Linked DNA regions of Homo sapiens: region 2 is linked to region 1. The links are contacts of gene promoters, found by promoter capture Hi-C in blood cells and fetal thymus (Javierre and others, 2016). All regions are on one chromosome and are shown on one strand. Each heading gives the region's core, a stretch centred on a gene start or on the middle of the fragment in contact. The rest is flanking DNA. Distances are from core to core; before and after follow the strand shown. Region 1 holds the start of ABRACL (ABRA C-terminal like). Region 2 has its middle 640 kb from the start of GJE1.

What was found. The method cuts DNA at HindIII sites, captures the fragments that hold promoters and counts their contacts. A CHiCAGO score of 5 or more calls a contact.
Region 2: a fragment that was not itself captured here is called in contact with the fragment with the promoter of ABRACL in region 1 in 1 of 17 cell types (total B cells); the score reaches 5.9 in total B cells.

Annotation. Positions count from the first base shown.
Region 1 is chr6:139,026,404-139,031,181 of GRCh38, reverse strand. ABRACL (ABRA C-terminal like) reads right to left here and starts at 2,437. Exons shown (of 3, transcript NM_021243.3): 1 at 2,307-2,437. RefSeq lists silencers at 1,244-1,434, 1,484-1,853, 2,114-2,273 and enhancers at 654-1,473, 1,296-1,590. The HindIII fragment of the contact is 5,437 bases long and covers 1-4,147 here.
Region 2 is chr6:141,485,607-141,490,523 of GRCh38, reverse strand. It overlaps the pseudogene RN7SKP106. Among named protein-coding and RNA genes, the nearest start is that of GJE1, 640 kb to the left of the region's middle. RefSeq lists a silencer at 1,725-1,925. The HindIII fragment of the contact is 2,596 bases long and covers 2,073-4,668 here.

The sequences.
Region 1 (4,778 bases), core at 1,188-3,687:
GAGGGAGAATGAAAATGTCCAAAGAAATTAAGGAACTTTCCAATTCTCTGATTCTCTGATTCCCGACCCCGGAAAGATGTTATCTCTTTAACACCCTTCTTCGCTCCTTCCTCCCACCTCCAGCAACATACTTCAGACTTAGCTCTCATTGAATAATGAGCATCAAAGGGGAAATTCATCTATTATATATAGTACGCATACCTGCATTATAGTAAGCAGATGTACGTTCATCCAATTTTAAGCATGAAAGGCAACCAGCGTTTCTTTATAATTAATTACACATCAGGCTCCTTATCTACGTTAATTCATGTAGTTCTAAGAACCTTGCAAGGCATTTATTTACCTCTATTTTAAGGATAACGAAACAGGGGTTAATGCCCCACAATTAAATGCTGTCTCTACCACATCGTGGTGGCTGTTTCCCCGCTTCCTCTTCCTCTTTTGCCATTATGCAAATACACTAAATATAATAGTGAGTGGTATTTGTATGAAACGTGACATGCTGAGCTCTTACCAAGGCAGAACACTTACAAAGCAAGAAAGGCTCCCTGCCCAGACCACCATAAATAGGAAAATAACAGGTTTAAAAACAATTGCTAGCATACATAATTTGACGTTTTATTTATTTATTATTTAGGAAGGAGAGGGACAAAGGGGGAAAAATACCTATTGTGACACAATCCTTTAAAGACCCATGGCCTTTTATAATAAGGACAGAATCCCAGGACTGCAGAGAGCAAGATGAAGAACAATGAAGGGGGCGGAGGGTGAAGAGAGGTTGATGGGTATAAACACAGAAGAAATAAGACCTGGTGTTGCATTGATCAGTGGGGTGACTATAGTTCACATTAATGGATTGTACACTTCCAAATGGCTAAAAGCAAGTTAAGTTGAATGTTCCTAGCATAAAGAAGAGATAAATATTTAGGGTGATGGATATACCAATTACCCTGATTTGGTTATACGAATGTAACACATTCTCACGAGTACCGTGAAACTATGTCTAAGAAAAAAAAAAAGAAAAGAACAATGAGGAGAGGTGAGAAGCAGAGCAAGTCTAAAGGGAAGAGCTTAATGGTGAGCGGCTGGACCAGAAGACAGGAAAAGGCTCCAGGGAAGGCGAGGTAGATGACGGCCAGGCACTCTAATTGTCGCAGAATCGATTTCGGCTTTGTGCGTGGGAAACACAAAGGAAGCGGAAAGTCGGAGGACTGGGCAGAACCCGAAACTCACCACCAATACACACTTTAGAATGTATTTAAGGACCCTCAGGGCATTGTTATTTTTCAAAAGTTTGGAGGCAATGCATGGAGATTTTCTAATATCCAAGGAAATAAAGCCTACTGGAATAGGTATGTCCGGAATCAGGAACCAACTTTACACACTCGGGCTGGGCACGTTTTCCCAGCCCTTCTTCGCAATCGCGGACAAGCAGCTGGTGCGGGTCAAAGGGTGACTGGGCTCCTTACTCCCTCCGGTCTGGGGCGCGCTCACTCCATATTTGGCCATTCTGCTACCAGCTTGGGGTTCTGCCTGGTAGAGGTCCCCTAACCCCGTGCCCTGCAGCCCATCATCACACGGTCACCGCCGGCACCAGTGCAGGGCTGGGGAGCGCGGGGCTGGGCCCCCCGTGGCGGGGCGGCACCGCTGGCGCCCGGGAAGGGCCGCGTCCCGGAAGTCTTTGTCTCCGCAGCTCCCGGCCCGGCGCCGCGGGTCTGCCTCCCCCGTGGCCCGGGCGCCCCGAAGCGCCGCGAGAGCGAGCACCCAACCCGGGCGACGAAAACGGACCCTGCCCCGGGCTCCACGAGCCCCTGGTGTCCCCTCACGACTCTGCACCCCCTGATCTGGAGCGCACAGAGCCGCACCCACCTCCGGCGCTGCAGAGTCCACTGCCCTGAGGCCACCACGTTCCTCGGGGCAGCCTCTCCTCTCGCCCCCAGCCCTTCCCCACCCAGCTCTGCAGAACTGGCTCCTGAACCACCGCCAAGTGCAAAGCCGACACGTCGCACCGCGGTAAAAATCGTTCCATTTCTGCCGGCTTCCCAGTCCGCCCCCGGCCGGCGAAACGTCACGTGAGCCGAGTGCGGAAGTCGACCCGAGAGGTGGGGGCGTGGGCGGCGCGCGCCCCACGGGACCCCAACCCGCGAGGTCTCGGCCCAGCCGGTCGCAGCTTCCGCGCGCCCTGAGCCCCCTCCCGGCCCCCTCCTGACCCGACTCTCACCGCAGCCCGCGGTGCCCGGCGGCGCACCACGGACACCCAGTCCATCCCTGCTACCTAAGCCACATCTGCCCGGGCGCTCACGCACCTCTCTGCGCGGTTTTCCTTCCCGCCGGAGAACTGGCGCCGCGTGGGTCTGGACCCGGTTACCTTCTTCAGTGCACTGGGGAGGGTGAGGCCAAGGAAGGAAGTGGCTGAGGCAAAGAGAAAGACGGCTGTGGAGGAGGAGGAGCAGGGTAGGGGGAAAAGTAAGTGTTTCTGCGCTCAAGAAAGGGGCCGCCCACACTCCCAGGGACAAGCCTATGAGGAGGAAACTCAGGGGAGGAGACGTCCAAGAAAGGGGCTGACTGCAGACAGGTGAAGCGCCCTGGGCTCCTAGGAAAACGGGCCCAGAGCCTGGATTACCTCACTTTTCCACCGTGCTACTCAGAGCCAAGGATCCCAGGATCTGCATCTGATCCTGGGCGTCGATTTCCTGATGGATTTCTCTCCCAACGTAAGAAACAAAGCGCCCTCAAATTGCTGAAGGCTGCTAGAAAGAACGTGGCATTCATGGGTTCCGGATGCCGGGGGCCTCCAGAAAACTACGACTCATGACTTAAAAATGGCTTAATTCGCAAAACAAAATGCAATCTTGAAAGCCAATTTGTCAGACTGCAAAGAAATTTTACTTGGACATAGATAGTTGTTGACCCTGGGTCAGTATCGGTTTCTTCCCTTGTTCATTCATTATTTCATACATTTAACTTCATAATTCAATTTATTCATGCTCCCTTTGTTTTAGTCACTGTTATTTTAATATATGCGTGTGTGAGAGAGAGATGCTTACCGTACCCAGAGAGTCCTTTTGGAAAGGAAACAGTTACCCAAACTATTTCTAGAGCAGGGGTTGCACAAATAACTACAAAAAACGTTCCTTACCCCCTCCCCACCCCCAGCCCAGCTAATTTAAATTAAGAGTGATCGCGTGACCCAAGAGCGCACAATCCGTGATGTAGTCATCATCCTGTGAGGTGACCTGGAGCAAACAGTTCTCATCAAACACGGACTCTGATAGTTAGTAAGCCAATCAGACACTCCCTTGGAAATGGAAAGTGGAGAATGCAGAGACGGAGCTGTCTGATGTAAGAGAAAGGTTGGAGCTAAGAGAGGGTAAGGCAGAAGGGGCCAAAATGGGCTTCGGATGCAAAACATTTGAGTAAGCAGAAACCAGGAGAATGTAGCAGCAGGTTGGGTGGAGGCACAAGTGGTAGAAGCCAGTCAAAGACAAGCTGAGACCAAGTGATGGAAGGAGAGCAACAAAGACCTGCTTCCCAGGGGCATGTGAGTGTTCAGTTCCCTGGGGCTGCACTGGATCCATCCACTTCCCACGCTTCATTCTAGTCTTTACGGTGAATACCTGTCTCCTGGGTGTGACTGAAGGAGTCTCTGTTCTGTAATCTTCAACAAAGGTCTGATTCTTCTAAGTGTCTCATGGCAGATAAAGTTTAAGGTGACTCCAAGATCTTTTCAGACCTATTTTTTTCTTTTACTTGTTTTATATTGTTACCAAAATGATTGAGGCCTATTTTTTTCTCACCAAAAGAAAGGTGAGAAGTTATAGTTTATATCTTTCACAGTCGACATAAGGCAAAAAATATATAATTCAAGAAAAATATATTTAGCAATTATCGAAGCAGGACCTCGCTATTTTGGCCTGTGACAGGGATCACAATTCATCAGTCAGATAATATCCAATGATAGGAATAATGAGTCTGGAGAGCACCGCTTCTGTTATGATTAGGTAATTAGTATTGCCCTAATTGCCAACCAAAGAAAAAGAAATAGGTTACTTTACCTAAAGAAGTAAACATCCTTGTTAATATAAAAATAAACTCACCCAAAAGATACTTTGTTTACACATGTGCTAAACTAAGTATAACACAAGCTTTATGTTAATCTATAAGGAATTACAATTTAAGAAAATTGTTTTGTCGGCTGGGCGCAGTGGCTCATGCCTGTAATCCTAACACTTTGGGAGGCCAAGGTGGACGGATCACCTGAGGTCAGGAGTTCGAGACCAGCCTGCCCAACATGGCAAAACCCCGTCTCTACTAAAAATACAAAAATTAGCCAGGCGTGGTGGCACATGCTTGTAATCCCAGCTACTCTGGAGGCTGAGGCAGAAGAATCACTAGAACCCAGGAGGCGAAGGTTGCAGTGACCCAAGAGCGTGCCACTGCACTCCAGCCTGGGCAACAGAGTGAGGCTGCATCTCAAAAAAAAAAAAAAAAAAAAAAAAGGAAAGAAAAGAAAAGAAAAGAAAAAAGAAAGCTGTTTTGATAAAAGAAATATTAAAAAATCTTAACTAATATTTTTCATATCCAATCCTAGTCCTTCAATTTCCAAATAGACTTTTGTTATCTATTCTTATTCCCTCAGGAATATCATCATGTACAATGTAAGCAATGTGGAAGTTTAACCTAAAAAGAAAATAATACAATTTATCAAATTAAAGAGTATTTAATATATTTTAAATAAATGTGCCAGCCACAAAGTGCCAATACTAAATCGTCCAAAG
Region 2 (4,917 bases), core at 2,121-4,620, 2.5 Mb before region 1:
CAGAAGCATGTTGTGAGAGTATAGTAAGAGAAACTGAGTTTGTTTTTTCTGCTCAGGTGTTCACATTATGGAAAGCTTTTAAGTTTACATTGGAATTCTTTGTTCTATTTTTCTGTAGATCTAAAACTGTTTAAAAATAAAGAGGCTAGGTCGGGCATGGTGGCTCATGCCTGTAATCCTAGCACTTTGCGAGGCCAAGGCGGGCAGATCACAAGGTCACGAGTTCGATATCAGTCTGGCCAACATAGTGAAACCTCATCTCTACTAAAAATACAAAAAATTAGCTAGGTATGGCGGTGTGTGCCTGTAATCCCAGCTATTTGGGAGGCTGAGGCAGGAGAACTGCATGAACCCAGGAGACGGAGGTTGCAGTGAGCCAAGATCATGCCATTGCACTCCAACCCAGGCAACAGTGCAAGACTCTGTCTCAAATAAATAAATAAATAAATAGGCTAAAAATTATCACGTTTAGGTGTATTATAGCATTTATCTTTTCTAGATTTCTGTAAGGCTATTTAAAAATGTAGAAATGAAGTGGTTTTGTCCAATGACTTTGTTACTTAAAATCCTAAGAACCCTGTATGGTTAGAGTTCTATAATGTACACTGTAAGTTAACACATATGTTACCTTGTGCTGTGGTTTTAGTACATCCCCCAAAGTTTGTGTGTTGAAAACTTAATCCTCAATGCAGCAACATTGAAAAGGTGGGAACTTTCAATAAGGTCATAAGGGCTCTTCCCTCATGAATAAATTAGGTCTGTATCATGAGAGTGGGTTAGTTATTTTGGCCCCTTCTCTGTCTTGTCTGCTTTCTTGCATTTCTGCCTATCTGCCATGGGATGATGCAGCAGGAGGGCCCTAGCCAGATGCCAGCACCATGCTCTTGCACTTTTCAGTCTCCAGAAACTTGAACAAAATAAACTTCTTTTCTTCATAAATATTACCCAGGTATGGTATTCTGTTATAGCACTAGAAAGCGGACCAAGTCACATTGGGTTAGCAAATAAAAAGTCAAAATATTTCAATGCACAGATTTATAATCATGACAGGCAAAATTACTTATCTAATTCTGAGGGATAAATTATCTAACTTTTACTTGGAGTTTTCTAAAAGACCTAAAATGTTTAACTGTGGGTCAACCTTTACCTGATATGCTTACTTATAAAAGTCTAAGAATACTGATTTTTTTCTCAATTTGCTTATGTGTTTAGAATTATTATTTTTAAAAACACCCAACTAGTCTTCCCCACATCTAATTAATCAATATGCACAGAAAACAAATAAATAAAAATATAGAAAAGACACTGAAAATTTAAAGTTTAAGAACTAATGGATTGATAAGAAAAACAGTGCCTCAAAAATGGTTTTTATATATATATAAATTATGTATATAATACATTATAATGTATGTTTATAATAATATATAATTTTACCATAATTTATAATTTATATCATAAATTGTATATACATATTTGATAAAAATATTATTTTAACCATATATATATACACACACAAACACACACACACATATATATATAACCATTATATATATACTGATAAAAATTTTACACCACTGGAACATTTCATTATTTTGGCAGGATTGTCTTTGGGCAGCACAACCTTGAGGAGCAATGTAGCAATATCTTATAAGGTTGAAGAAACAGCCATAGACAGCTCAGTAATGAAATCATTACTGAATGTGTACACTAGAGAAACTCTTACATATGTGCAAATTTAGTAAATGCTCCCTGTCCCTTTGGCCTGATGAGTTCACCTACTGCTCCTTTAAACAGCTACTGACCTGCTGCTAGACTGTAACTTCCTGTTTCTGCATCACCCTTCTCCACTTAAGCCGTTTCTCTGAAAACAAATGAGATAGAAATGCTGGACACAGGAACACTCAGTATGTGCCTGTGTTAACACTACTTAAGGGAAATCCTCAACAATTGGGGCTAAAAGGCAATGGCTAAATCCTGTAGCTTCCTTGTACTGGGGTAGAACTAACCCAAGGTATGTTCCTTACAATCCCCAGTGGGATTGTGACTCAGTTGTTAACTGTGGTACTCAAGCTTGTTAAGACGTAACTTTATTGCCCCTTTTCTCTTACCTATTTCCCTTTCTTTCTTTTCTCATTTTTGGTGCCTGGGATCAACTTCAAAATAAAGTGTCTGTGTCCAAATCCTTGACTCCATTGGATTTGGTGGGGGAAGGATTAAGACTAAACAGAATATGAGAATGTCCATTCCAGCATGATTTGTAATAGTAAACAATCAGCAAAATTGAGGCTTTTAAATTTTATTGTGTTTTATAGTAGCTTAGCAAAATAAATCAATAATTTATTTTTATATCTAGAACAACCGAGAATTTACATTCAGAGATATTAAATTTATAATATCTTCATAAATTGGAATTGGAATTAATTTATAATATTTTCTTATGTGAAGTCAATACTACTGACTATCAAGACTTCTTATATGAAGTCAATACTATTATCACTTTTTGGTGTAAGTGTGGAACATACATTCAAATGACTACCAAGTAATGGGATTATATGCATGCTTAGAAATAAATACAGATATCAAGTTCTGAATAAGTGGTCATGGTAATATTTATTCCCAGATAATTGCAACAAACCATGTAGAAATTATATATTTCTTAGATGAATCAACAATTCAATTGTATTATACTGTGTATTAGTCTGTTCAGGCTGTCAGAACAAAATACAATAGACTTGATGGCCTAAACACAGAAATGTATTTTCTCATAATTCTGAAACTGGAAGTCCAAAAGCAAGGAGCCAGCAGGGTTGGTGTGTGGCGAGGGTTTGCCCCTTGGGTTGCAGATGATTGGATGCCTCCTTGCTACATTTGCTACATGCTGTCTTGATCTTTTCTTTGTGTCCTCCTGGAGAGACAGCTAGAGAGAGAGAGAAAGAGAGAGAGTGAGAGAGAGGAGAAAGTTATTTTTCTCTCTGGTGTTTCTTCTTATAAAGACATTATTTCTATTGGATTAGTGTCCCAATTTAATGATCTTATTTAACCTTAATTATATCTGTAGAGGCTTCTTCCCCAAATACACAAATACAGTCATATTGGCAGTTAGGCCTTCAATATATGAATCTGGGGGAAGGAATATAAATATTTAGTCTATAATATACTCACATTCTGTACTCAAGACTTTTTATTAAAATAAGTTACAAGGAACTTATCATCCACTGATTACTAAGAGGCGTTGGGAACCATATGCAAATAATTTTTAATCTTGATCCTTCTAACACTTTATTACAAACTATTCATATCTAGAATTTAAGATTTGGATGAAACTTTTCAGATTATCTACTATAAGCACAACGTACAAGGATATTTCTATGTGTTTCTTGGCAAGGTGCCAGGATCATACTCTATTTCTGGGCGGAGGGAACAGTGCATTGTATTTACCTAAATATTTAGAGAGTCTTCTTAATATTGACTTATAATATTTTTTCTTATAATGTCTATACATTTGACATAAATATGCCATCTGGAAAATGCTGACCATATGTGTTCTCTGATTCCAAGTATCACTGTATTTATTTTCATGGTAACCTAGCTTCAGAACAACTCAAGTGCTCAAACCAAACACTGTAATATGGATACTGCCTGTCAACTAACAGATACTTTTTCTATGATTTCCTCATAAAAAGTATTTGCACAGGCTGGGTGTGGTGGCTCAGCTGTAATCCCAGCACTTTGGGAGGCTGAGGTGGGCGGATCATGAGGTCAGGAGTTCGAGAACAGCCTGGCCAACGTGGTGAAACCCCGTCTCTACTAAAAATACAAAAATTAGCTGAGCGTGGTAGTGAGCTTCTGTAATCCCAGCTACTCAGGAAGCTGAGGCAGGAGAATCATTTGAACCCAGGAGGCAGAGGTTGCAGTGAGCCGAGATCACGCCACTGCACTCCAGCCTGGGCGAGAGAGCCAGACTCTGTCTCAAAAAAAAAAAAAAAAAAAAAAGGATTAGCACGATACAGAACCCTTTTCTCATAATGCCATTTCAAAATTAAAGTTATTTGTTTTGTTGTTGTTGTAGTTGTTTTGGTAAAAGGAAGAAGAAGAAGAAGAGAAAAATTATGGATATGAGGGCAATCTAAGAGCAACATCTATCAACCATTTGATTGCCAGGGTTGGTGCAGCAGATCTGGTTGACTAGACAGGTGTTCCCTTCCTTCCTCACCACTCCATATGCGTTCCTTCCAAAGCTGTGTGCTCGGTAAAAGAGGATGACCATCCGCGATGGAGAAGGACCCATCTTCAGTCAAGGGCACGTGAGTAGATGGGCTTCCCTGCTAGAACTTCCAAACAAGCTCTCAAGAAGAGAAAAATCAATCACATGATATTATTCTTCACCTCTCTTGTTTATTATTTATTGATTTATTTTGTTGCTATTGTTGAATAGTTCATATAGAGTAAGTCTGGAGAAAAATAAATTAAACGGTAAGGACAATTCAGTGATTATCCAATTGAACAGCTGTATGTGAAATAACATCATTATTGGTATTACTTTATTACTTTTAGGGTTTGAATTCTTGTGTTCAAGTGTAGTTCTTTCAGATATTGTTGCTGTATTATCATCTCTAAATTTGTAAGTTGTTTCTTATTTCACAGGGACATAAAGACTGGAAACAAGCTTCATTGCCATTGGGGTTCAGTTGTATCTAAGTGATAAGAGAAAATTTCTTGGTGTTGTAGAAGAGCAGAAGCCATTGTTCTCATGCCATGGCTGAGGATAAATGTGTGGGCTTTGACAAATGGCAGACATGGGTTTTTGCCCATTGATTTTGGAGATCTTCCTGAGAATCATCTTCTTAGGTGTGGTAGGCAACTAAAATAATTGTTAATGGCTTCCTGAGATTCCTTCACTTAAAAATATCTTGAAAG